Regions from separate parts of the Homo sapiens genome. Here all the other regions are linked to region 3. The links are contacts of gene promoters, found by promoter capture Hi-C in blood cells and fetal thymus (Javierre and others, 2016). All regions are on one chromosome and are shown on one strand. Each heading gives the region's core, a stretch centred on a gene start or on the middle of the fragment in contact. The rest is flanking DNA. Distances are from core to core; before and after follow the strand shown. Region 1 overlaps SLC25A21 (solute carrier family 25 member 21). Region 2 has its middle 53 kb from the start of BRMS1L. Region 3 holds the start of NKX2-1-AS1 (NKX2-1 antisense RNA 1). Region 4 overlaps SLC25A21 (solute carrier family 25 member 21).

Region 1 (2,947 bases), core at 147-2,646, 600 kb before region 3:
TGTACAGTAAGATCTTTGTAGTTGATGCTGTATTACATATTTACCTCTCTGTGAGCTATTTTCATTTTAATAGAGCTGAAATGGTTACCAGAAAGGGGTTCCCATCCAGACCCCAAGAGACGGTTCTTGGACCTCACACAAGAAAGAATTTGGGGCAAATCCATAGAATATAGAATAAAGTGAAAGCAAGTTTATTAGGAAGTAAAGGAATAAATAGTGGCTACTCCATAGGCAGAGCAGCGGCGTGGGCTGCTCAACTGATTATGCTTATAGTTCTTTTCTTTTCTTTTTTCTTTTTTCTTTTTTTTTATGGTGTCTCACTCTGTCGCCTAGGCTGGAGTATAGTGGCACTATCTTGGCTTACTGCAACCTCCATCTCCCAGGTTCAAGCAATTCTCCTGCCTCAGCCTCCTGAGTAGCTGGGATTATAGGCCCATGCCACCACACCACCACGCCTGGATAATTTTTGTATTTTTAGTAGGGATGAGGCTTCACCATGTTGGCCAGGCTGGTCTCGAATGCCTGACCTCAAGTGATCCACCTGCCTCAGCTTCCCAAAGTGCTGGGATTACAGGCATGAGCCACTGTGCCTGGCCTAGTTATTTCTTGATTCTATGCTAAGCAAGGGGTGGATTTATGAGTTTTCTGTGAAAGGGGCAGGCAGTTCCTGGAACTGAGGCTTCTTCTCCTTTTTCGACCATCTAGGGTAACTTCTGGATGTTGCCATGGCATTTGTAAACTGTCATGGCGCCAGTGGGAGTGTCCTTTAGCAAGCCAATGCATTATAATTAGTGTATAATGAGCAGTGAGGATTACTGGAGGTCACTTCCATCACCATCTTGGTTTTGGTTGGATTTGGCCAGCTTCTTAACTGCATGCTGTTTTATCGGCAGGATCTTTGTGACTTGTATCTTGTGCTAAGCTTGTATCTCATCCTGTGACTTAGAATGCCTAACCTCCTGGGAATGCAGCCCAGTAGGTGTCAGACTTATTTTACCCAGCCTGTGTTCAAGATGGAGTCACTCTGGTTCAAATGCCTCTGAAAAAACCTTTAAATTAAAAAAAAATTATTGTAATGGTGGATTTTCAGGAATCAATTACTAGGTAAGGAAACCATGGGAGTCAAGGAATAAGTATAAAAACCCTAAAGAAAAGATAGTCCAGGGAATTACTCTGCTTAAATTTAAGGTTGGTTTTATGTACTTCCTTAGTAGTTGTCTCAATCCTTAAATATCTTTTAAAATAAGAAAAATAAGTTGGACTATTATCAATAATAGTGTAACCACTCAATGGGTTCTTCTTACCCACTGCCCAGATAAAGCCAATTTATCAAGGCAGGGGAACTGCAATAGAGAAAGAGCTTTACATATTCAGAACCAGTTAAACAGGAGAGCGGAGTTTTATTATTACTCAAATCAGCCTCCCTAAAAATTTGGAGGCTAGAGTTTTTCAAAAATAGTTGGGAGGAGGCAGGTGGCTGGGGAATGGGAGCTGCTGATTGTTTGGGGGTACAATCACAGAGCTGTGGAAAATGGTCTTCCTGTTTGCTGAGTCTGCTTCTAGGTGGGGCCACAGGACTTGTTGGTGGATCTGGGTGGAGCCATCAGTTGTCAGAAATGCAAAAACCTGAAAAGACATCTCAAAAGTCCATTCTTAGGTTCTAACAATAGTGGTGTTATCTGCAGGAGTGGTTGGAGAAGCTGCAAATATTGTGACCTCTGGAATAATGGCTGGTAATCCATTACATCTGTACGTTAGTATAATTCGGGTTCCTACCATCCTCCTAACTTGGTGGCCTTTCATTAGTTTTGCAAAGGTGGTTTAGTTTCTGGGGAGGGCTATTATCATTTAAACTATAAATTAAGCTTTTTGGGAGGAGGGGAATCCATACAAAAAAGAATCATTTTGTAGTCTTAAAATATTTGTTAATTTAATAAAGTTTTTAAACTATCTTTAGTGATTGGACTTCCTACCAAAATGACAAAAAAAAAAAACAAACAAAAAAAAACTATGTTTGGTGAATTTTATGTATCCAGTAACTACTTTTTGCTTTGTGATCCTGTATTTTTATCCTCAGATTGCTTATGTATTTCTGCATTTAGGAAGGAGATGGCAGTATTGAGCCTTGGCAGTGACTTAACCCCACTATTTGAAGGAGCTTAAAAGTTCTTCATAGAGAGGTATCAGTTTCATCTCTTGGGATTTTATTTTCTACACTTCCCCCCTCTCCCTCTTTGTATTCCCATGTGGAGAGTGAAAAACGTACTCTAGTATATGTTATATTAGATCTGTCATACCAGGATACTATTAAATTACTTATTCTCATTTCTACACATCTAAGAATGCCGACTTAAGGGATGTATAGAAAAAACTCTCTTCTAAAATAAAGAGAGCCAGCTCTAAAATGCAAAAGTATGTTTACGATGTGCCTGTTTTCCTAAGGCTTTGACAGGAAGAATTAACTTTACATTTCCAACATACAAAACACTTTACTGAGCCACATCTTATGGTAAATAAACTGTGCTCTGGGAATAAATTTTTCACCATTTCTTTTTTAGGGCAATAAGCTACTGCTAAGAAAATGACTTTTTCTAGTGCTGATGCCCTGAAAAAAAGTTTAGATGATGAGAGGAATTATTTACTTAGACTCCATTCACAGCCACTGTTTTGCCTGCATTCCAAATTTCAAAAGGATGATTCATGTACCTTTTAGCTCTATGTTGAAAAATAAAATGAGTCACAGTGCCCTTTGTCAATATCAAGAGTAATTAAAGAGTACATTTTTCAGCTATAAACTATAAGAAAAACAGAATGCTACCACGTAAAGTTGTAGTAAGTTGTTTTTAAAAGTATAAGCCAAGATTAGCAAACTGAGCCGCCATGTCAAAGGATCTGAATTGGTAGTTGGAATGGCACCCAATACTACAAGTTATGTTTTGAAAAGCTG
Region 2 (3,168 bases), core at 224-2,723, 640 kb after region 3:
AAACTATGCAGTTAGTCCTCCATATCTGTAGGTTTCACATCAGCTAGGTTCAACCAACCACAGATGGAAAATATTCAGAAAAAAAGAATAGTTTCATCTGTACTGAACATGTACAGTCCTTTTTTTCTTGTCATTATTTCCTAAACAATACAGTATAACAAGTATTTACACAACATCATATTGAGAATTACAAGTAATCTAGAGATGAATTAAAGGATGATGTGCATAGGTTATATGCAAATAACCATATTATATAAGGGACTTGAGCATCTGTAGATTTTGGTATTTGCAGGGATCCTGGAACCAATCCCCTGAGGATACTGATGGATGATTATATTTACTGCCACATCCCTTCAGAGCACTTTGATCTGTATTACAAGCTCTCATGTTCCCTTTTGTTTAATTACATACTTTGTTTCTACAGTAACTCTAAAGCATATAACCAGTTGCAATGTCCCTAAGCCCTTTACATGGTGAATTTTTTTCAGCTAATAAAGAGTAATAATAATATAATCCTTGTGTAGAGCTTTATCTTCTTCCTAAACATCTCTTAATTAGTATGCAACAGGATTAAATACAACTGAAGTCTCACTATACCATTTTGAATAATTAGGAGGAAAAATACAAATTCTAACCTAGGCACCTAAGTCTTGTAGGAATTTACTGCCACCTTCAGGTTTTAATGAAAATGCACTGGGACTGTAGCTTTTACATTTCCAGATGATAGTCCCTGGTTAATATAGTAGAAATATTAATATTATTTTCTGGCTTTAGAAGCAAAGTACTACTATCTAATTTAGATTGCAGTACAAAATGCATTCAGGAAATGCCTTTCGCCTTGTCTTTTTGTCTTTTGTGATTCTTTCAATAATGTGTAATTGAAAATTAAAGTCTGTTTTTTATCAGCCATTATAATTATATACTAGAAGTTCCCAGATCTGTGTCCAGAATGTACTTTGTATCATTGTCTAAATCTAGTTAAAAAAAAAAAACTATTACAGCAAACTGTTTTAAATGTTCCACGTGTCAATGCCTTCCAGCCAAAGGCCACCAGGAACACACCGGCAGTTGCACAAGTTGGGTTTCTTGCTCATTTCAGGGAGGGAGAAACCACACCATAGGGAACTGTGGATGTCTGAGTAAGAAGGTGTTAAAAGGGACTTATAGGATTTGGGCTTTTATTGGGAGATTTTTGGTAGGGTTTGAGGAAGTGGGCTTTGCTCTGGATAAAATGCTGTCAGGAAGTGGGGGCAATCCCATAATTTAGTATCTTAATGAGTTTTACTTATAAAGCAGGTGGAATGAAGTGAGGCTAATGCTATAATTGGTAAAGAAGCAGAAGTCATTCACATTAGCCAGAATAGGGGAATGTTCCACATTTTTTGTGGTTTGCAGACTGACTTTGTTTTTGTCTATATTTAGACAAGATGTTGTTGGGGTGGGCGTTGACCCCACTTCCTCACGGTCACAGAGTGGCCGTGATGTTGGTGTTCCGTGAGATTGTTTATGTTCAACAGAACACCAAGGCCTATCACGCAGTTCCTAGTTGTCAGGGACTGCTTTTCTCTTTCTCATGCATATATTTGTAATTCCATGAATACCTTTTTTTTTTAATTCCTTGACTTTGTGCTGAAATTATAAAAGTTTGTGATGATTTTCAAAGTGGATATCAACAGAATATGAAGCTCTAAGGATGCATCATAAATGTTGCAAGGGTGTGAAATCCAGCTCAAAATCGTTTGGAAAAAGGGGAATTTATTAGAAGACCCACATAACACAAGGAAGACCGGAGTGCAGATGGACTATGAGTCAGCTCATAGCACGAGGCTAAATGCCAAGAAACTCCCCATCCACCTCTCATCTCCTCAGCTGTCTCCACAGGGCAGGAAATGTCATTGCCTATAATTTCCAAACTTTATTGTCCCAGTTCCAACATAAGAGGGAGACTGATACTTTTTCCTGCAGTTATAGTTTAAGAGATCCAAGAGAAGGGTTTTAATTGGGGCAGGCTGAGTTACACGTTCACCTAGTGCACTCAACTAGGACCAAGAATTGTGCAGTATTAGAGAAAGAGGTGTTCTCATTAGAACCACACAGTCAGATCAGGGAAGAAGCATTTCCTGGAAAAAGTAGAATTGAAGTTCTGGGTAAGCAAAAGATTTGAAAAAAAGATTTAAAGCTGGGAGGAAAAAAAAATCAGTTCTGGGTTCTAGAAATGTAATATTTGCTATAAAGAGAAAAATTAAAATAAAATAAAAAGAGAGAGACCCAGTTAGGCCATCACAATTATTTCAGTAAAATATACCAGAGGCTTGAACTAGGGCAGCACCAGTGGGAATAGAGAAAAGAGAATGCTTTCAGTTAGAAATGTTTCAGAGTTAGAATCTACAGGACTAGCTAATTCCACAGATGTGAGGAGAAGTCAAATTCATCAACAGCCCTTACATAGGATTTATCATGTAACATGCCCTGTTCTACACACTTGACATATATTCATTAAGTCCTCACCACAACCCTATGAAGTATTATTTCCATTTTCAGATGGGGAAATTGAGGCACAAAAAGGTTAAAAAGTTACCCAAGGTTGACGGGGTGCAGTGGCTCATGCCTGTAATTCCAGCACCTTGGGAGGCCGAGGCAGGTGGATCACCAGAAGTCAGGAGTTCGAGACCAGCCCGGACAACATGGTGAAACCCTGTTTCTACTAAAAATACAAAAATTAGCCAGGCGTGGTGGTGCGCACCTGTAATCCTAGCTACTTGGGGGGCTGAGGCAGGAGAATCACTTGAACCCAGGAGGTGGAGGTTGCAGTGAGCCGAGATCACACCATTGAACTCCAGCCTGGGCAACAAGAGCGAAACTCTGTCTCAAAAAAAGAAAAAGAAAAAAAAAAGAAGTTACCCAAGGTCATACAGCCGATAAATGGTAGAGTTCACATCCAGCTAATCTGGCTCCAAAATTCATGAGTTTAGCTACCTGCCACAACCTCTCCAAGGTCTGAATTTATGTGAGTCATTGTGTGTATCAAGGGTGGAAGCACAAATAGAGTACATTCCAGACTGGGAGAGGAATGTGCACAGGAGATAATATTTGGTTTTCTTTATATTAAGTTGTAAATGTGTTAAGAGTAACAGATGGAAATGCCCAATGGGCAACTTGAATATATAA
Region 3 (2,849 bases), core at 350-2,849:
GGAAGCAAGAGCACTTTTGCATGGCTGAGCTGCGGGCGGAGGCGAGCCTCGGCCCAGCCTCCCGCCCGCTGAGCTGCCCGCACCTCGGCATTCGCCCCCTCCTGGCCAGCGCTCCAGCCGCCGGGGTTCAGGCTCAGTTCCGCCCGGCAACAGACAGACGGGCACTCACGCCGCTCCCTGCTCGCGCGCTCCCTGAAGCATCAGAGGGGAAAACAGCGTGGCTCTGGGCTCGGGTGCTGGGGCTGTGATGTCCTCGGAAAGTCAGCTCCAGCCCCAGATCCCCGCGTGTCTGGGAGATGGGCGAGGGTCAGGGACACCAGGTTTGTTCGAGGTGGGGCAACTTCAGTGACGGACCCTCCCGTGAGACCCCTTCCCATCCTCCCAGCTCTGGGGGCCAGTGCTGTGTTTGCTCGGCCGGGGGTGGGGGGGGGGGGGGAAGACCTTGGGGGAGGCGTGTTAGCGGGGGTGGCCCACTGAAAAACCCCTGAGCTGCGGGGGCGGGTTGTGGCTCGGGGATCCGGGACAGCCTCCGGGAGGCAGTCGATCCCCTACTCAGCGCCCCCTCCGCCCGCTCGGATTCTCTCCGGTAGGGGGAAAGGGGGCGGGGAGCAGAGGTGTCCCTCTGACGGCGGCAGAAGAGAGGCAGACAGACTGACAGACACGTAGACCAACAGTGCGGCCCCAGGGTTCGTCCCCAGACTCGCTCGCTCATTTGTTGGCGACTGGGGCTCAGCGCAGCGAAGCCCGATGTGGTCCGGAGGCAGTGGGAAGGCGCGGGGCTGGGAGGCCGCGGCGGGAGGGAGGAGCAGCCCCGGCAGGCTCAGGTGAAACCCCCACCCTGTCCCTCAGCCCCCTCCTCCTAAAGACCTGTCCGTGCCCGGGGAACCCCGACCGAATTGGAAAGTGGTTCCACTTTGTAACTCCGCAAGTTGGTTGCAAAGCAGCATTCACCTTCCTTCCTCTCAACCATCTCTCCTCCTCTGTTACTCCCCCACCCCACCTCCTGCCCTCCCCGCTCTCGGTTCCCTCCTCCTTCCCCTCCCCTCCACCTCCTCCCCGCGCTCCGCTGGTACCCCACAAAAAATGGGGGTGGGGGTGTCCAAGGGAGGGGGGAAATGCTTTGGGTCTCGTCTCTGCCTCTCTCTCTCTCTCTTTGAGACCTAAAAATCCTGACAAGTGAAACTTAAAGGTGTTTACCTTGTCATCAGCATGTAAGCTAATTATCTCGGGCAAGATGTAGGCTTCTATTGTCTTGTTGCTTTAGCGCTTACGCCCCGCCTCTGGTGGCTGCCTAAAACCTGGCGCCGGGCTAAAACAAACGCGAGGCAGCCCCCGAGCCTCCACTCAAGCCAATTAAGGAGGACTCGGTCCACTCCGTTACGTGTACATCCAACAAGATCGGCGTTAAGGTAACACCAGAATATTTGGCAAAGGGAGAAAAAAAAAGCAGCGAGGCTTCGCCTTCCCCCTCTCCCTTTTTTTTCCTCCTCTTCCTTCCTCCTCCAGCCGCCGCCGAATCATGTCGATGAGTCCAAAGCACACGACTCCGTTCTCAGTGTCTGACATCTTGAGTCCCCTGGAGGAAAGCTACAAGAAAGTGGGCATGGAGGGCGGCGGCCTCGGGGCTCCGCTGGCGGCGTACAGGCAGGGCCAGGCGGCACCGCCAACAGCGGCCATGCAGCAGCACGCCGTGGGGCACCACGGCGCCGTCACCGCCGCCTACCACATGACGGCGGCGGGGGTGCCCCAGCTCTCGCACTCCGCCGTGGGGGGCTACTGCAACGGCAACCTGGGCAACATGAGCGAGCTGCCGCCGTACCAGGACACCATGAGGAACAGCGCCTCTGGCCCCGGATGGTACGGCGCCAACCCAGACCCGCGCTTCCCCGCCAGTAAGTGAGGCCGCCCCACTGCGGGGCCGCGGGCTGAGCTCAGGAGGTGCGGCGAGAGCCGTCCAGAAGGCGCGGCGCCGGCAGGCTGCGCGCTGGGCATCAGGGAGGGCGGCCCGGCAGCGGCGCCAGGGACTTGGGTGCGGGAGCTGGGGATGCTTCCCCCTGCTCGGCTGGGGGTCCAAGAACAGGCACTTGGTAGCGCTGGGGTCCTGCGGTCAGATGCGGGTACTCGGCGTCTCCTAGGCGCGGTGGACTGGCAGCTCTGCTCGGCGCAGAAGACCTCGGGGAGCCAAGGGAAGCGACCCCGAGCTCAAGGAGCAGGGGCGAGCAGAGCGCGGAGAGGCTAGACCGGGCCAGGAGGGAGGCTGCCCTGTTGGGAGGCACTCGAGCGCCCGGCCCGGCCCTCTCTCCAGCGGAGTCTGGGCAGGTGGGAGGACTCGCAGTTCCAGAGGGGACTCTAAGGGTCCGAGCAGGTGCCCTCACTGGGGCCTGACAGGAGAGAAGCCAAGAGGCAAAGCGTCTGGGGGCTCCAGCTTTTGGAAGTCAACACCCCCTCTCCTAACCTCTCCAAACTGGGGTCTACCGTAGGACCCCAGCTCCCGGCCTGAGCCCAGTTCGCCGCCTGTGGCCAGCTAATCCTAATGCTCTGACCCGGGCTGGGCACGAAAGGAGCAGAAGCGGCCTTTCCCCCACTGCGTCTTTTGGTTCGAAAGAGGGAACTGAGACTGAGGGAGGGCAGCCAGGGTTGGGGCTGTGAGCGCTCCAGTACAGCCCCCTCGACGGTACGGCCTGGGGCAGGCGCTGGCAGTTCCCCGCGGATGGGCCTCTTGGGCCCCAGCGCTAGGCTGCCTGGGTCAGGAGGGCGCCGTCGGTTGGGGCGGGCCGGGCGGGCCAATGGCGCGGAAAACAGGGGTGGCCTGGCTCGGCCTGGCCCCGGCCGACGCTGTGCGTTTGTCG
Region 4 (2,789 bases), core at 56-2,555, 630 kb before region 3:
CCAATTTGTAATTTCTTGAAGATGAGGAAAGTGAAGCTCAGAGAAATTAAATATCTTGTTCAAGGCTGATGACAGACACAGACTCAAACTCTGCTCTTTGCTTTCAAAGCTTGAGCTCTCATCCATTACTCCACCCTGCCTCTTAGTGTGCAGAATGAGAAATCAGGTAAGCAGCCCCTTCAAGTATTGCCCCCATAAGTCTTCTTTTTCTCTCTGGTTATGTTAAATACCACAGCTTTTTCTTGAACTTGAGTGTTAATGAACAAACAGGGTCTGCCCTTGTACAAAAGTCCATTTCTTGTTTTTGCAGATTTTTAAATGCCAGCCATAGCTTAAGTATGAAATTCTCCATATTAACCAGCAGTGCCTCTGTTGGCATTAATGCGGCATCTTTTTTTCTGCCAGATGCTACAGGCAATTGGTCAGGAAGTGGGCCAAGCCTCCACCCTCACGTATTGTTAACTGAATTCGCACACAACTAATAAGATACTGGTGTGACTCAGTAGAGTGAGAGCAACCCAAGAGTGGACAGGAGGGGCCTGTCTGAAAAAGGAGGGAATCTTAAGTCGCATGTAATTTAATGTCTGTAAAAACTAGAATAGACTACTGTAGGGAGAACGTATAGCCTCCTCTTTGGAGAAAGAAGAATGAAATTCAATAGAACTCGATAGAATTGGATGACACCTAAAATAGAATCATGGCCCAAAGTAATTTTGCAGAATGAAGAGAAAGAGAGAGAGAGAGAGAGAACCTACCAATGTGCTAATATTTCTTGAAAAGTTACCAATATTTATCGACCATCAAGTATGCCAAATCAGAATAATACAATTGTGAAAAACATTAGTTTTTGTTCTGATTGCTTGAGGCTTCTATTGCTGTTATTATCACTATCATTTTGGGGCATGATTGTAGAGGCAGGTTAAAGCACTTTGGAGTAAATTGCAAGATCCTCTCCAGAGATCTGAGAATGAGCAGCATTATTTTGGAGCGTCCGCCTAGGACAGCACATTTGATTGGCTAGTTTATCACAGTGGACATTTATATCTGAAACTAAGATTACTATTCTGTACTTGTGCAGACCTATAGATGGCGCTGTCTTCCTATAATTTTGGTGATTTGCTTTTTATTTTCTTTTTAAAAGGAAAAGCTTTCTGCAGATATAGTTAGATCTAGAAGTGTGTTAACTTCTGATTACATTCCACTATTGCAAAGCATCTTTGCCTTGCATAGATCATAGAGAATTCTACACTTGAAAAATACAGACTGTACTTTGGGAATTAATTTTTCTTTTAATTGTGATTCATACCTGTGTATGTATGGAAAAATGGGTTTATGTATATGAGTAAGAAAGAGGGATGGAAGAAACTGTTTTTATTTGTATAATATTTATTTTCTTTATGTTGGTTCTTGCCGTAAAATTTGAATTAGAGTCCTGGATAAAATAGAAATCATTGATAAGCTTAGGATAAATGTCATAATTTCTTGTAGATCTTAGAGATTACCTGAAACTCCTAGATTCCATAATTTTGTTTTTCAAAGTTATTAGGGCTAGGGTATGTATTATAGTCATAATAAATTATAAACATCTCTAAACAGGAGCTACAGTGCCAAACACGTAGGTTTTATTTATGTATCTGGGACTCAAATGCCATTTCTTGTTTTAATTCAGTGGCCTTTAACATAAGAAATTGGGTATATGTATGAATAATAATTTTTCTTGAATGTAAGTTCTAAACAGGATTTTTTTCCTTCAACCCTACTCCTTCTGTAAGGAAAAAGTTTTAAGTATGATACATATTATGTTGTGGATTTGGTTTATGAATGGGAAATGCCAGAAGTGCTTGCTTCTGTAATCAAACTTTAACCACAAGATGGCAGTATAACTTTCCCATGTCTTTAAAAAATTTTTAAATAATTACTAAATTAAATTATTTTTTCTCTCTTAATGAGAAATGTATACAGCTAAGGGATTTCAAGATAGTTCTAAGGAGGATGAATATTGAAGGTACTGTACTAAATATAAGAAATATTAAAGACTATTTAGTGATTATTTATTTATTTTTTGAGTCTTGCTCTGTGAGTCAGCCTGAGTCTGTGCCCAGGCTGGAGTTCAGTAGTGCTGTCTCAGCTCACTGCAACCTCTGCCTCCCGGTTTAAGCGATTCTGCTGCCTCAGCTTCCTGAGTAGCTGGGACTACAGGCGCCCACCACCATGCCCAGCTAATTTTTGTATTTTTAGTAGAGATGGGGTTTCAGCTTCCCAAAGTGCTGGGATTGCAGGTGTGAGCCACCGTGGCCGGCCCTAGCGGATTTTTTTTTTGATGGAGCAGTTTTTAGTTGCCCTAAGAAAACATTTAATTTATATTCTGTAAAGTTGAAATAGGAATATGATATGAAAATGGTAAGCAACTTTGTTTTACAGAGCAATATAGTTTCATTAGGTTTGCCTCATAAAGCATCAAGAAAGTGACAGTAGATTTTCTGTTTCTTTCATGTGTTCATGGACATCTGCATTGGTGTATACCTTGTATTTTGAGCTCATAGCTGGAGATTAGAAGTTCAACAAGAAGCAAGGAAGGGAAGAAAAAGAGAAAAGTAGAGGCACTGGCATCTAAGTTAAAAAAAAACAGTGGTGATAATGATGTCTATGTGATTCTTGTTGGCTTCATATCTTCCATAGTCAAAAAATGGATCATCTAGGCAGGCACAGATAGCTCACGCCTGTAATTCCAGCATTTAGGGAGGCCAAAGTGGGGAGAATTGCTTGAGCCCTGGAGGTTGAGGCTATTG

What was found. Contacts are between HindIII fragments. The CHiCAGO score rates a contact against its expected background, and 5 or more counts as called.
Region 1: a fragment that was not itself captured here is called in contact with the fragment with the promoter of NKX2-1-AS1 in region 3 in 1 of 17 cell types (endothelial precursors); the score reaches 5.3 in endothelial precursors.
Region 2: a fragment that was not itself captured here is called in contact with the fragment with the promoter of NKX2-1-AS1 in region 3 in 1 of 17 cell types (M2 macrophages); the score reaches 5.0 in M2 macrophages.
Region 4: a fragment that was not itself captured here is called in contact with the fragment with the promoter of NKX2-1-AS1 in region 3 in 2 of 17 cell types (endothelial precursors and M2 macrophages); the score reaches 8.5 in endothelial precursors.

Annotation. Positions count from the first base shown.
Region 1 is chr14:37,116,916-37,119,862 of GRCh38, reverse strand. The region is part of intron 1 of SLC25A21 (solute carrier family 25 member 21); the gene reads left to right. Among named protein-coding and RNA genes, the nearest start is that of SLC25A21-AS1, 54 kb to the left of the region's middle. The HindIII fragment of the contact is 943 bases long and covers 925-1,867 here.
Region 2 is chr14:35,877,350-35,880,517 of GRCh38, reverse strand. No RefSeq gene overlaps it. Among named protein-coding and RNA genes, the nearest start is that of BRMS1L, 53 kb to the right of the region's middle. The HindIII fragment of the contact is 8,468 bases long and covers 1-3,168 here.
Region 3 is chr14:36,518,028-36,520,876 of GRCh38, reverse strand. It overlaps NKX2-1-AS1 (NKX2-1 antisense RNA 1), which reads right to left and starts at 1,599. Exons shown (of 2, transcript NR_103710.1): 1 at 1,198-1,599. It overlaps NKX2-1 (NK2 homeobox 1), which reads left to right and starts at 645. Exons shown (of 3, transcript NM_001079668.3): 1 at 645-824; 2 at 1,507-1,892. The coding sequence starts at 748. SFTA3 (surfactant associated 3) reads left to right here and starts at 1,321. Exons shown (of 5, transcript NR_161365.1): 1 at 1,321-1,409. RefSeq lists enhancers at 1-229, 230-1,229, 2,388-2,849. The HindIII fragment of the contact is 5,756 bases long and covers 1-2,849 here.
Region 4 is chr14:37,148,980-37,151,768 of GRCh38, reverse strand. All of the region lies in intron 1 of SLC25A21 (solute carrier family 25 member 21), which reads left to right. Among named protein-coding and RNA genes, the nearest start is that of SLC25A21-AS1, 22 kb to the left of the region's middle. The HindIII fragment of the contact is 312 bases long and covers 1,150-1,461 here.